Linked DNA regions of Homo sapiens: region 2 is linked to region 1. Evidence: promoter capture Hi-C in 16 types of primary human blood cells and fetal thymus (Javierre and others, 2016). All regions are on one chromosome and are shown on one strand. The core of a region is centred on a gene start or on the middle of the fragment in contact, and the rest is flanking DNA. Distances in the headings are between cores, read along the strand shown.

Region 1 (6,952 bases), core at 2,355-4,854:
TTGAGGTTACAGTGAGCTATGATGGCACCACTGCACTCCATCGGGGCTACAGACTGAGACTCTGTCTGAAAAACAAAACAAAACAAACAAAAAAAGAACAAAATTCCCAGCAGGATTGTTAAAACATATAGACAAGCCTAAAATACATATGGAAAGTCAAATGAAGTAAAATACCCAAGTAATCAGGAAAAAGAACAAAGTTGGAGGGCGCTAAGACTTACTTTAAAGCTACAGCAATCAAGACAGTGTCGTGTTGGTGAAGGGATAGACACAGATCAATGAAACAGAACAAATGGTCCAGAAATAAATTCACACAAATATGGCCAACTGACGTTTCACAAAGTGGCAGGTGCAAAGTCAATGGAAGGGAGTCTTTTTAATAAAGAACTTGTATCCAGAATATTTAAAGAACTCTCAAAATTCAATGGTAAGAAAACAACCTGATTTTGGCCGTGTGCGGTGGCTCACGTCTGTAATCCCAGCACTTTGGGAGGCCGAGGTGAGCAGATCACCTGAGGTTAGGAGTTCAAAACCAGCTTTGCCAACACGGTGAAACCCCGTCTCTACTAAAAATACAAAAATTAGCCGGGTATGGTGGCGCATGCCGGTAATCCCAGCTTCTCAGGAGGCTGAGACAGGAGAATTGCTTGAACCCGGGAGGCAGAGGTTGCAGTGAGCCAATATCGTGCCATTGCACTCCAGCCTGGGTGACAGAATTCTGTCTCAAAAAAAAAAAAAAAAAAAACCACTAGGAAATACTGCTGCATAACCATCAAAAATTTAAGACTGTTAACACCAATTGTTGGCAAGGATGTGAAGTAACTATAATTTTCTTTTCTTCTTTTCTTTTTTTTTTTTTTTGAGATGGAGTTTCACTCTTGTTGCCCAGGCTGGATGGAGTGCAATGGCATGATCTCGGCTTACCGCAACCTCCACTTCCCAGGTTCAAGCGATTCTCCTGCCCCAGCCTCCCGAGTAGCTAGCTGGGATTACAGGCATGCGCCACCATGGCCAGCTAATTTTGTATTTTTAGTAGAGACGCGGTTTCTCCATGTTGGTCAGACTGGTCTCGAACTTCCAACCTCAGGTGATCTGTCTGCCTTGGACTCCCAAAGTGCTGGGATCACAGGCGTGAGCCACCTCGACCAGTCCTTTTTTTTTTTTTTTTTTTTTTTTTTGAGATGTAGTCTCGCTCTGTCACCCAGGCTGGAGTGCATTGGCATGATCCCAGCTCACTGCAACCTCTGCCTCCTGAGCTCAGGAGAGTCTTCTGCCTACGCCTCCCAAGTAGCTGGGACTACAGGCGTACGCCACCATGCCCAGCTAATTTTTTTTTTTTTTTTTTTTTTTTAGTAGAGATGGAGAATCACCATATTGGCCAGGCTGGTCTCGAACTCCTGACCTCGTGATCCACCTGCCTCGGCCTCCCAAAGTGCTGGGATTACAGGCGTGAGCTGCTGCGGCCAGCCAATTTTCAAAAATTGATTCAATCCTTTTGGGAAACTGCCAGCAGTGTCTACTAAAACTAAATATACACCTATCATCCTATGACACAAAAATTCCTTTTATAGGTATATATCCTACTAAAATCAATTATTCATCATACTACATGAATGTTCAGAGCAGCTTTATGCATAATAGCCAAAAACTGAAAACAACCCACATACACATCAATGGTAAAAAGGATAAGTTAACTTAAGTATATTCATGCAATAGAATACTATTCAGTAATAAACAAACTTCAAACTACTGATACGTGTGATAACATGGAGGAATCTTACAGACACTACGGTGGGTGAAAAAAAACAGAAATGCAAAGGTGTCCAATCTTTTGGCTTCCCTGGGCCACACTGGAAGAATTGCCTTGGGCCACACATAAAATACACTAAAATTAACAATAGCTGATGGGCTAAAAAAAAAAAAAAAAAATCACATGGCGGGGCGCGGTGGCTGATGCCTGTAATCCCAGCACTTTGGGAGGCCGAGGTGGTCAGATCACCTGAGGTCGGGAGTTTGAGACCGGCCTGCCCAATATGGTGAAACCCCATCTCTACTAAAAATACAAAAATTAGCCAGGTGTGGTGGCACCAGCCTGTAATCTCAGCTACTCGGGAGGTTGAGGCATGAGAATCGCTTGAACCTGGGAAGCGGTGGTTACAGTAAGCCGAGATCACACCACTGCACTCCAGCCTGGGCAACAGAGACTCTGTCTCAAAAAAATAAATAAATAAATAAAGTCACAAAAAATCTCGCAATGTTTTAAGAAAGTTTACAAATTTGTGTTGGGCCACATTCAAAACCGTGGCCTGTGCGGGTTGGACAAGTTTGGAATAAAGCATAATGCTTGATTGCAATTACATGAAGTTTAAGAGTAGACACAACTCATACTTGGTAATTTAAGTCCAAATGAATAGTGGTTACCTCTGGGGAAGTACTACTGACCGGAAGGAGCAGTTGGAAACCTGGGGTGATGGAAATGTTCTAGATCTTGACCTAGGGGCTAATGACATGTGTATACATATGTAAAACTTCACCCAGCTGTCCTCTTAATTTCTGTGCGATTTATTGTGTGTAAATTATATCAGTTAGGAAAAAATAAGAAAAATGAAGGAATGATGGAGAAAAAAAGAAATGAAGAGAAACGTAACGAAGGAAGAAAGAAGGGAGGAAGGGAGGGAGGGAGAGAGGAAGGGGGGATTAAACCCAAGCACGGAGGGGGAGAGATGCTCCTCAAAAATATGCTATCAGTCATGTAGTGTTATTTATTTATTTATTGAGATGGAGTCTCGCTCTGTTGCCCAGGCTGGAGTGAGTGGCACGATCTCGGCTTACTGCAACCTCCACCTCCCAGGTTCAAGAGATCCTCCTGCCTCAGCCTCCCGAGTAGCTGCCATTACAAGCACACGCCATGGTGACCGGCTATTATCTGCATCTTAAAGATGGGGAAAGTTTGAGGTTTCCTGATGTGTTCAGCGTCACAGACTGGGTGAGTGACTCAAGCTGAGGCTAAAACCCAGGTGTGTAGGGCACCAAAGCCTTTGTGATTCCACCTCCTACAGCTCAGGTCACTTCCTCGGAGAAAGGTGACTCCTAGAAATGCCTCCCACCTGGAACTGATCTCCTCCTGGGAAGAACGTCTGTCTTATCGCCGTCGACCTTAGGCATGGACACCCTTCTGTCCCCCACCCACAACTGTGAGCCTGCTCAGGAGGCACAGCCGCGTTCATTCATTTTAGGCCTCCTCAAGGGCTCAGCGCCTGCTAAGCAGATGCGCGTTCCTGTAGGACAAGGGGTGGCCACTGGAGACGCGGGTGCGACGCAGGCGATCACGCCCTCGGACGACGCTGCGGACTGCGCTTCCTTCCGAAGAGGGAACCGTTGAGAAGAGTGAAGCGATGAGTTATGCCTCACTGGAAACCAACCGCGTCCGTGTGACTCACTTAGAAACTCACTGTTACATATTTGGAGCCTGAGCTGACGACCTTCCGGGTACACGTCAGGCAGAAGCAGGTGCGCGGTGGGAGTGTCCGCCCCGCCCCGCCGGTCGCGCCGGCCCCGCCCCCCTCACCTGCGCGCGCAACCCCACCCCAGCGCGAGGCTCTGCACCGGCCGCGCCCGCCATCCAGCTTTTATATGGCGCTATTTTGGTCGCGCGCCCTGATTGGCCGGGAGCGGGCGACGACACGCTCGCGCGCCTCAGGGAGGGGCCAAGATCTGGGGGAGGGGAGCTTCTGGCAGCCGCGCGGATCCGGGGGCGGCGGGGCGGGACTGCTGCGGTCTCTGGGGGTGCTTTGGGGCTTCTGTGCCTAGTCTGCAATCTGTTAGTGGGGTTATATTTTAATAAAAGAGCTTGTGTGTCCGAAGGGGATTTGCCAAGAACCAAACTCACCCTTCTGGGAGGGAGTTGCCAGATGGCGGGAACAGGCGGCGTAAACCTTACCAGACGTGAGCCCAGGCTGCTCAAGTGTCATTCGCGTCTTGAAGCTCTTGCCCGCCTCCCTTTGCAAGCGCGTCTAATGCCAACTCTACCTTGCCCTTTGCTAAACCAGCCCTCTAATGTGTTATCGTGCCTCACGTCAGACAATGGCTGGGCCTGTCTCTCTTTCCCCTTGGTTCTGTCCTCTGCCCTTCTCTTAAGCCAGAAGAACAAAACACTCCTTAGAATCGCTGGAGGATCTCATTTCCACCACATTCCCGTGTCCGGAGCCGAAGAGCCACGTCTGACCCTCACTGGTCTGGCTGTCCACCAATCAGGCAGCATTGCTTCTCTGAGTCTCAAGGTTATTAAATTTCTTCTGGTGGCAGACTGGTTTTGTACTTTGGTGAAAGTGACCAAATAGGTACGAAGTGTGATTCATCAAAAATTCTTACACTTAAAAAGATAAGCCAAAAGGATCATTCGAAGCCACCACTCCATATTAGATGGGAACTTAGCTTGAAAGGGGTTCTCTTAAGGATTTCTATTTACTTCTTTGAATTACAAATATCATCTCTGGTTGGAAAGCCTATAAACGCCTCTGAGATTTCCTGAGTTCACAACTTTGAAGATCATTTGCAGCTGGATGCAGAAAAAACAAACCTAGTAATTGTTGAATGTGGACATCAATAAGAATTAAGTACTTTTGGCCCAAAGGCAGTGGTTCACACCTGTAATCCTAGCACTTTGGGAGGTCGAGGCAGGAGGATAACCTGAGGTCAGGAGTTCCAGACCACCCTGGCCAACATGGTGAAACCCCATCTCTACTAAAAATACAAAAATTGGGTGGGCGTGTTGGCGCATGCCTGTAATCCCAGCTACTCAGGGCTGAGGCACCGAATTGCTTGAACCCAGGAGGCAGAGGCTGCAGTGAGCAGAGATCATGTCACTGCACTCCAGCCTGGGCGGCAGAGCAAGACTTGTCTCCAAAAAGAACTTTCAATGTGCCAGGCATTTTAAATGCTTAACAGGCATTTCATTTAATCCTCACAAAATCCCCATGACTTAGATACTATTATTATACCCATTTTACAGAAAGGGTCTAGAAAGCTTGCATAACATTGTGTCTGGACTTGGTTCCTGCCAGTGGGTTCGTGGTCTCAGTGACTTCAAGAATGAAGCCACAGACCTTCGCGGTGAGTGTTACAGCTCTTAAAGATGGCCGGGACCCAAAGAGTGAGCAGTAGCAAGGTTTATTGTGAAGAGCGAAAAAGCTTCCACAGCATGGAGGAGGACCCAAGTGGGATGCCGCTGCTGGCTGGGGTGGCCAGCTTTTATTCCCTTATTGTCCCCACCCATGTTCCATTTCTATCCTATCAGAGTGCCCTCTTTTTCAATCCTTCCCGTGACTGGCTACTTTTAGAATCCTGCTGATTGGTGCGTTTTACAATCCTCTTGTAAGACAGGAAAGTTCCCCAAGTCCCCACTGGACCCAGGAAGTCCAGCTGGCCTCACCTCTCAACATGACTCATGCAACACATTAGTACCATGGCAGTGCCGGGATTCACACCCAAGGTTGTCTGACTCCTGTGTGCCCTTAACTACTAAGCTCTGCAGTTTCTTCTTTCCTAACCAGAAACTTAGTCTTAAGCGGGCCCAGAAGGAGTTGGGATCACTACCAGGTGTTACAAATCTTCAGGAAGACATTTGTCCTGCTGCTGGTTTAAGAAAAGGATTGCTACTGTGGGGCGTGGTTGCTCACACCTGTAATCCCCACTATTTGGGAGGCTGAGGTGGAAAGATCACTTTAGCCCAGGAGGTTCAGGCTGCAGTGAGCTGTGATCACACCGCAGCACTCCATCCTGGGTGACAGAGCGAGACCTTGTCTTAAGAAAAAAAAAAAGATTGCTATGTGAGAGGGAAAATAAGGGTGCCTACAGTCTCAACAATCTCCGCTTCCCCTGAGCAACAGACCATATTAAATCTGCAGTACAAAGTTTCTGAAAATGTCTCAGATTCTGCTGTGTTCATCAATTTGGAGAACGACCTGTTTACAAAGTGGCCTCACTTAGATCCACTTGGTTGGTTAGGAACCAGGAAGCAAACCGATCATAAGAATGACTTTCAAACTTTCTTCTACACTTTCTTCCAAAAAGCTACCAGAACTACCTGATAGAAATTCCAAATACAGTAGACCCTGCAGTGGAAACTGCCTTGGAGCCAGGCAGGCTTGGGTTTAATCCCCAGTCCCACCATCCCCCAACCCGTCTCTCTGAAGTTGTATGAATTTCCAAACTTTTATGAACCTCAGATTCTTTATTTGTAACCTGTTTGGCTGAAAGGATTAACTGAGATCTCTGAAGTTCCTGAATTATTGAGTGGCACAAATAGGTATTCAAAAAAATGTTCATTATCTTTTTTGCTCCTTCCCGTGAATGATTAAGAAGAAAAGCACCTAGTCATGACTATTCTATCTTTATTATTTCTCTTACAGAGCTACATTGACTGTACTAAGTTTCATAGTCAGGTAGTAATTTACAGTAAGACTTAATTATCATCCATAACTTTAAATGTCCTTATCAAAACTTCAACGACATCACTTCCAAATACTAGCATTAGCTTTGTGTCTGACATTCATTTAACAAAGTTACTAAAAATCTATTAAGTGTAAGACTTTGGTTATTTTTTAATAGAACTTTCTGAAAACTTTTCAGCAATATAGCCTATTGAGAAAAATGGGTATGTTGAAAAACAAAAACAAAAAGCATGGTTTACAAACAAGTATTAGGGAAATAGTATTTTTATTATTATAACCTGTTCCTTCTTACTGCTCCCAAGCTCCAACTCTGACCATAACTCTTAATGAAAATAATTTGGTCTGGTAAGACTAAATAAATAAAAAAGAAAACAAAGTTTATTGAAAAGCAAAACATTGGGCTGGGCACAGTAGCTCATGCCTGTAATGCCAGTACTTTGGGAGGCCAAGGTGGGAGGATTACTTGAAGCCAGGAGTTTCAGACCAGCCTGAGCAATGCA
Region 2 (6,952 bases), core at 2,326-4,825, 3.6 Mb after region 1:
ACGCTGTATTTTCAAAAATAGTGTAAGTGTTCCATGGTTCCCTCAGGCAATTAGCTCGTGTTGTTGCCATAAGTTGCCCTACTTCTATCCCCACAGAATAAGCATTTGGTCCGTCTGCTCAGAGTTATCACGTTTTTCCTTCTTCCCTCTAGGTAGGTCACTAGATTCCTTTGTGAATGAACAGTGTGCATCAAAGAGCCATTAAAACAAAAAAAACCCTAAATATGTGTGAAATGCAGCTCTTAGTATTTCTCTGGAGCATTGAATCATATTATATGTAATTATAAAATACTATCGGAAAAGGGCACTTTACATACCATAATAGTCATTTTATAAAGTTCAATTTGGCAATTCCAAGCCACATTTAATTTTCTCTGAAAATTCCCACATGGCAGGAAGATATTGCTCTCTGCAGCTTTCAAGTCTCTTTCAGGGAACGGTAAAATGACAACCTTTTAAAATTAGCACTTTTTCTATAAATAGAGACTAAATCACTTATACCAAATAAAGTCACATATGCATTTTTATTAAAGTAAATACTAAAATAATAAGTAATTTTCCTACATAATCATTTTGGGATTTTACGCAAATTAGAATACTACAATATAGTTTAGCATGAATCATTTGTAGTTCTTCATCTTCACTGACAGGTGGGGCTAGTGATTTCTGTATTAATTATAATATTTTAGCATATTAAAATCTGTATCTAGATGAAGCAGACACTTCAAAGCTTCAAAACTGATGAAACTGCATACCTCTCTTTTAAGGGATAAAACCATTTGCATTAATATGTGAAATACACTACTAAAACACCCCCTGCTGATTTCTTAGGCTTTTGCAGGGAGTTATGCATAATTTTCTGAAAATTAAAAACTGAGGATTAGATATTTATGATAAAAATTGGATCTCAAGAACTATTAAAAACTTGGAAGATTCTCCTAAGCTAGAATTTTTAACTCAGTTAAAAAATTATTTAACACGTATCAGAGGTTAATAAAAAGCACAGTGCAGTCAGAAGATCTAAACTCAGTTACACCACTTACTAGCAAAGCACTGTGCTATGGTCTGAATGTCCCCCAAAATTCATGTGCTGAAACTAAATCACCAATGTGATAGTATATTGACAGGGAGGCCCTAAGTGGGTGATTAATTGATTGAGGTAGAGCTCTCATAAATGGGATTAGCAACCTTATGAAGAGCTGGAGGGAATTAGCTAATCCCTTTTTGCCCTTCTGCCTTTGGACATGTGAGGACATGACATTCCTCTTTTCTGGGGGATGCAGCAACAAGATGCTATCTTGAGGTAAAGAGAGCAGCCTTCACAAGGCAACAAACTTGCCAGCTCCTTGATCTTGGACTTTCAGCCTCCAGTACTGTGAGAAGTACATTTCTGTTCTTTATAAATTACCCAGTCTCAGATATTTTGTTATAGCAGCAGGAATGAACTAAGACACATCTTTGTGAACCTACATCACAGAATTGAAATGAGAATTAAGTAACAAAGGAAGCTGCTTTATAAATAGGTTCAGTTATTGAAGATGGCATGGTATAAACCATCCATAAATTCATATTTAGATCTGGGGACAAATTATCAGGAATCTACAAATTCTCCACGCAAAGGTGTTTCACTCATTTAGATTTTAGTTTGTTTTTATGTTGATGTTAATCTTTTAAAAAGCTCATGTGATTATATTTGGGGTCATCTGAACATCCTCTTTATACCTGTTACACAACGTGTGTGTTCATGGTAGCATTAGTGCCAAATAATTCAAATTCACTTGTTTCCAAGCTACTGAAAACAGATGCAGGCAGACTTAATATGTAGCTTCCATATTCTTCCAAAAGAAAGACAAGCGACAATGGAAAAAAAATTGAACAAAGATTTGGTAATAGTTTGACTCCAGAAAACTAATGAGAACATTCAGTCATTACATGGCACACTGGATCACTGGTAGGCTGAAACTTAAAAAAAAAAAAAAAAGAAAACCTGCCAGTTAGCACTAAGTGTCGTGATTTAACAGTGTTCATCCTTGTCAATTAATAAGACCATTTGTATTGGTTTTGTATATATTTATTGCAATTGTTTTAAATAGTCATATGAAAACTGTAAGCTTATGTTTACACCTAGATTCGTATTTCTATATATTTAGATGTTACAAAATTAACACATATTAACTTAAAAATAATAAGCTGATACTTGAGTGTGGCCAGTGAGATCAGAACTCAGAAAAAACACAACTCAGGTTGTCTTCTCTCTGTACTTTGCTGTCTGACTCTGGGCATTGTCAAATGACCTCACCTCCCCTATTTCTTCACAGCAAACTAAGAATAATAATCTCATTCACATGGGACCATTGTGAGGAGTACGGGAAATAATGAATATAACTGTGAAATAATGCTTTGTCAGGTATACTGTGTTTTGGACGATAAGATATCTGAATCAAGAGTTTGTACTTCCAGTCTACATTTTGATGCCACGTTGGGCAAATCTCCTTACCTCTATGGTAGTCATCACTATTTTTTAAAGCTAGGAGATTATCTCAGTTCCTTTTAAAACAGCTTTTATAGAAGGTGGTTGAGTTTTCCACTGGAATTTCAAAGTACTCCTCATTTTTATATCCATACCCATAGTTGTTTCGTTTTCCATTAGCTTTTTTAAAAACTTACTAATTGAGGAACAGAAACTTTAAAATTCATTTGTGATCAACGCAGCAATGTCCAAACATAAGCAGGGTTAAAACAGCAAAATTCTCCCACCTATCAGAGAAACTTTAATTTTTTTTTTTTTTTGCTTCGTTGTTTTTATCTCGTATAACGGAAAGACAGAACTCATATTTCAGTCTTCTCTCTGTTCTTAGCTGTAATCCTAGCAAATCGAATGACCTCTTTACACTGGCCAATTATTCATCTGCCAAATAATAACAGCCACCACTGATCACGTGGGAGCTTACCCAATGCCATGCGTGCACTATGTTCTGAACGTGCACACCAGGCGATCTCTCTCATTTAGTGCTCACAATTTTGAGGTAGACATTAGCTCCATTTAACTGATGAAAAAACTGAGGCTGAACGAAGTTAAAAACCCATCATGCAGCATCTGCAGAGCGGCGGTTCTAAAAACGCCTCACAGTAAGAAAGAATTGCTAACAAACAGTAGCTTTGCCTCTAAGCACCCGCTTTTCCTCTAATATTCACAGACAGGTATTTAGAACGTTAAAGAGCCGGAAGCCCTTGGGAACTTCAGGGCGGGAGTAAACCGGCTGCACCTCTCAGAGCAACTCCTCCGAAAAACCCCACCCTGTCCAGGCCCCGCCTCGTCCCGCCCTCCTGGGCGCTCTCCCCATAGCCCGCCCAGGAGAAGCCTAGTCCACCCGGCTCTCCCCCGGCTCTCACAGGCGGAAGCCGCCGACCACCCAGCCTGCCCTTCTCGCGGCAGGACTTAGCGCATGCGCTCTCAGCACGCCGGGAATTTCCTGTCCGCGGTCATCGCTTCCGGTGGGATAGGTCTGACCAATGGGGCTGACTCCGAGGCGGGCCTTAGGTCTCGCAGGTTCCTCCCCTGCGCGTTTCTTTCGGAGCGGCGGTGAAGGTCCTGGGTGAGGTAGGGTTGGATGGTGCTTGCCGCGTATCATGGCTGCCTCCGGAAAACTCAGCACTTGCCGTCTCCCTCCGTTGCCCACGATTCGAGAAATCATTAAGTTGTTAAGACTGCAAGCAGCGAAGCAGCTATCACAGAATTTCCTCCTGGACTTGAGGCTGACAGGTGGATGGCTTAGCAGTGCTCCCCGGATGTCTCCCCAGTGTCCGTGGGGGCGTGGGCCGGGGGGTCTTGCACGTCCCCGCGGGCGGGTGTCCAGGCACTGGCGTGCGACGGGCTTTTGGTCAGGTCCTTCGACCTCTTTGTATCAGAACTCCGGTCCCACCGCCCAGGAGACACGTGAAGTGCGTTGATTGCTCACAAAACTCCGCGTTCGGGGGGGTGTAGCCTGCCGGCAGGCTGCATAAATGCCAAGCTCCCTAGGGGAGGAAGGGTTCATGGGTCGTGAAAGGCGCTAGTGAATATTGGAATCTGGGTCACTGTGAAATCAATCATTCTGAAATAGTACAGCACATGCTGACTGCAGTTGCTTTACATGCAGTTTAAAGTTACCAGAATTTAAATTGATGCGAGGATTTTATCAATAACTTGGTGAAAAGAGTATCCCTCGTATGATTCGTTTTTTAAACGTTTACCTGTTCAGTCTAAGCCTCGGGGGCGCTAATATTCATTCATAAGTACATATTACACAAGCAACATTGTGCTAGTGCCGGGGGTAGGATATGGGCGTGAACAAGGCGGTGTTTCCTCGAGGAGCTTACTTTTAGCAAGTTTACATTCCCACACCTAATTGTTTAAAGTTACTTTTTATGAGATATAATTTATGTGCAATAAAATTAATAAGTTTGAAGTGCTCAATTTGATGAGTTTTGACGAATGTATTTATATATTGGTTTAACCACCATCACCATTGCTTAGTGATGTTCTATGAGATGAGGTTGCAAAAATATATTACAAATACGTCTACTAAGTCACGGCTGGAGTACTTAGGTTTTGAGATTTTCATATTTCATTCTATTTAGTCCCACTTCAGAAGTTGAAAAGAGCAGTAAATCACACCCAAAAAGTTCATTTTCACTTAAATGAAGCACACTCCAGAAAACATAAAATGTTTTATTTCTTGGACATGTAGTCTTTATTCTGCCTGTACCAATATGACTTTGGATAAAATAATTTAACTCAAGTTTTCTCTTTTTTTTTTTTTTCTTTTTTTAAGATGGAGTTTCACTCTTGTTGCCCAAGCTGGAGTGCAATGGCATGATCTCAGCTCACTGCAACCTCCGCCTCCCCGGTTCAAGTGATTCTCGTGCCTCAGCCTCCCAGGTAGCTAGGATTACAGGCGTGAGCCACCGTGCCTAGCTAATTTTGTGTTTTTAGTAAAGACAGGGTTTCACTATGTTGCTCAGGCTGGTCTCAAACTCCTGATCTCAAGTGATCCACTCGCCTCGGCCTTCCAAAGTGTTGGGATTACAGGTGTGAGCCACCATGTCCAGTAGTTTCCTCATCTTTTAATTGGAAGAAGGGCCTACTACTTTAAAAGATTGCCCACTCTAAAATTCTTTGGTTCTAGTAATAGCTAGTACCAGCCTTTTCTGCTTGTTATTAGCCACATTCTAAATATAAATCACCATTCTCAGGGCAGAAGTTATAGGTCTGTGTATTTTTTAAAATCCTTCAAATACATTTTCTCATGAGCCTTTATCTTCAGGAGTAAGTTTCAAATTCTAGATATTATCCACTCTTTCTATGGGAACCAGAGTTAACGGAGATGAGGGTACTTAGCTGAGGTTAGAAGCTCAGGCAGAAGAGAGCAAGATTGAAATCCAAGCTCATTGATTTGATAGCGCTTCTTTAATATTCATTTGTATTTCAATGTGCCTGAAAAGTTTGAGAGCAGAGACCTGCCTACTGTTGTAGCTCTCCATTTTAAAGAAGGAGAGTATTAAATTTATTCCATAATGTATCATTCCTGTTCCCTCTGAGAGGCATTGGCTTTAGGATTTATACCTATGTTGAAGTCCATGACCTTGTACAAATAAAACAATAGACAAGGAAACTGAAAAGTTAAGAGAAATGAAATTGGGATAGGAGTCCTTGGTTAACATGTAAGGATTAGGTGAGAATGTGTGTAAATCCATCATAATAGATAAGATGGTCAGTGGATGCTAATTCCCTCCCTGTTAAAAGACTAAACCATTTTTGGATGGCTGAGAAACTAGTTTCCGCATTTTAGCTGACAAAGTTATGTTGTTGAAAACAAGCAAAAATAGGACTGTGAACACCTACAAGAAGTGCTGGTATGTTTTTAGTGACTAAATTTCCACTATCCTAGGAAGACCAGTTCCTTGGATTTCCATATCTCAGAATCACTAAGACCAGCCCATTGCATGTTTTTCCAGATGTGATGACTGGTTGCACAGAGTCAGTACTCTACCTTTTTATGATGTCTTAAGGGCTGCTAACTTGAATTTGATTAATTAAAAAATTAATTTTTCTGTATTAACATGCATGTGTGCAAAGCTTTAAAAACCCTCAACTGCTCAATTTAACTTTTTCCTGAAAATGACTAAGAATTCAAATTTCTGAAAATCTTACGATCTAAGAACTTATTGCCATTGCCATAGTGACCACCACCAAGATGTCTCTAGATAAAAATAAGACTTCAGCACTTTTTGCTTTTGGATTTCACTAGCAATACTGAAGATTCTGAATGTGAAACTAGTATTGCTTATTCAGATATTCAATGTTCAATAACTATAGAAAAGTGCTGCATTCTTATCCAGTCTGTTCTTAGGAGTCGGTTGGTTTCAAATCAGTTTGAAAGGAATTTGCATGGGACAGATGGAAACTACAATATTAGCTAAATTTAAGCTAAGAAACTTTGTCATGATAATCCTGTGTGTGTTAAGGGACTGGTACAGTTCAATGGTGATGTGGTAGCATATTCGATTGCCACTTCATGTTAATTTAGGTAGAGAGTTAAATAGTCAAATAAATATTATACATAAAGGATCAATTGATTGGGTAATGGCTGAATTTTTATAGAAGATTTTTCTCTCTAAATTTCATACGTTGAAATTTGCCAAGTTAATTGAGATAACTAAAACTCTTTTTCCTCTAGATAAGATTGTAAGGAAAGCTGGCAATCTGACAAATGCTTATGTTTACGAAGTGGGCCCTGGGCCAGGGGGAATCACAAGATCTATTCTTAATGCCGACGTCGCTGAACTTCTGGTGGTTGAAAAGGACACTCGATTTATTCCTGGATTACAGGTGAGATGCTTAAAGTGTCTGCTTTAGGAGGCAAAAGCTGAATTTAAATCTTTATGCCATGATGCTTAAACCCCAAGGTAT

Evidence for each region. The method cuts DNA at HindIII sites, captures the fragments that hold promoters and counts their contacts. A CHiCAGO score of 5 or more calls a contact.
Region 2: a contact is called between the fragment with the promoter of TFB1M here and the fragment with the promoter of LINC02901 in region 1, in 2 of 17 cell types (fetal thymus and monocytes). The highest score is 6.0, in fetal thymus.

What each region holds. Positions count from the first base shown.
Region 1 is chr6:158,866,466-158,873,417 of GRCh38, reverse strand. LINC02901 (long intergenic non-protein coding RNA 2901) reads right to left here and starts at 3,604. Exons shown (of 3, transcript NR_160980.1): 1 at 3,441-3,604. RefSeq lists enhancers at 2,611-3,284, 3,215-3,384, 3,285-3,957, 3,958-4,630 and a silencer at 3,465-3,784. The HindIII fragment of the contact is 6,622 bases long and covers 1-5,028 here.
Region 2 is chr6:155,311,107-155,318,058 of GRCh38, reverse strand. It overlaps TFB1M (transcription factor B1, mitochondrial), which reads left to right and starts at 3,575. Exons shown (of 7, transcript NM_016020.4): 1 at 3,575-3,763; 2 at 6,720-6,871. The coding sequence starts at 3,631. RefSeq lists enhancers at 2,761-2,810, 3,361-3,410, 2,492-3,482, 3,481-3,800 and a silencer at 3,231-3,310. The HindIII fragment of the contact is 4,007 bases long and covers 2,114-6,120 here.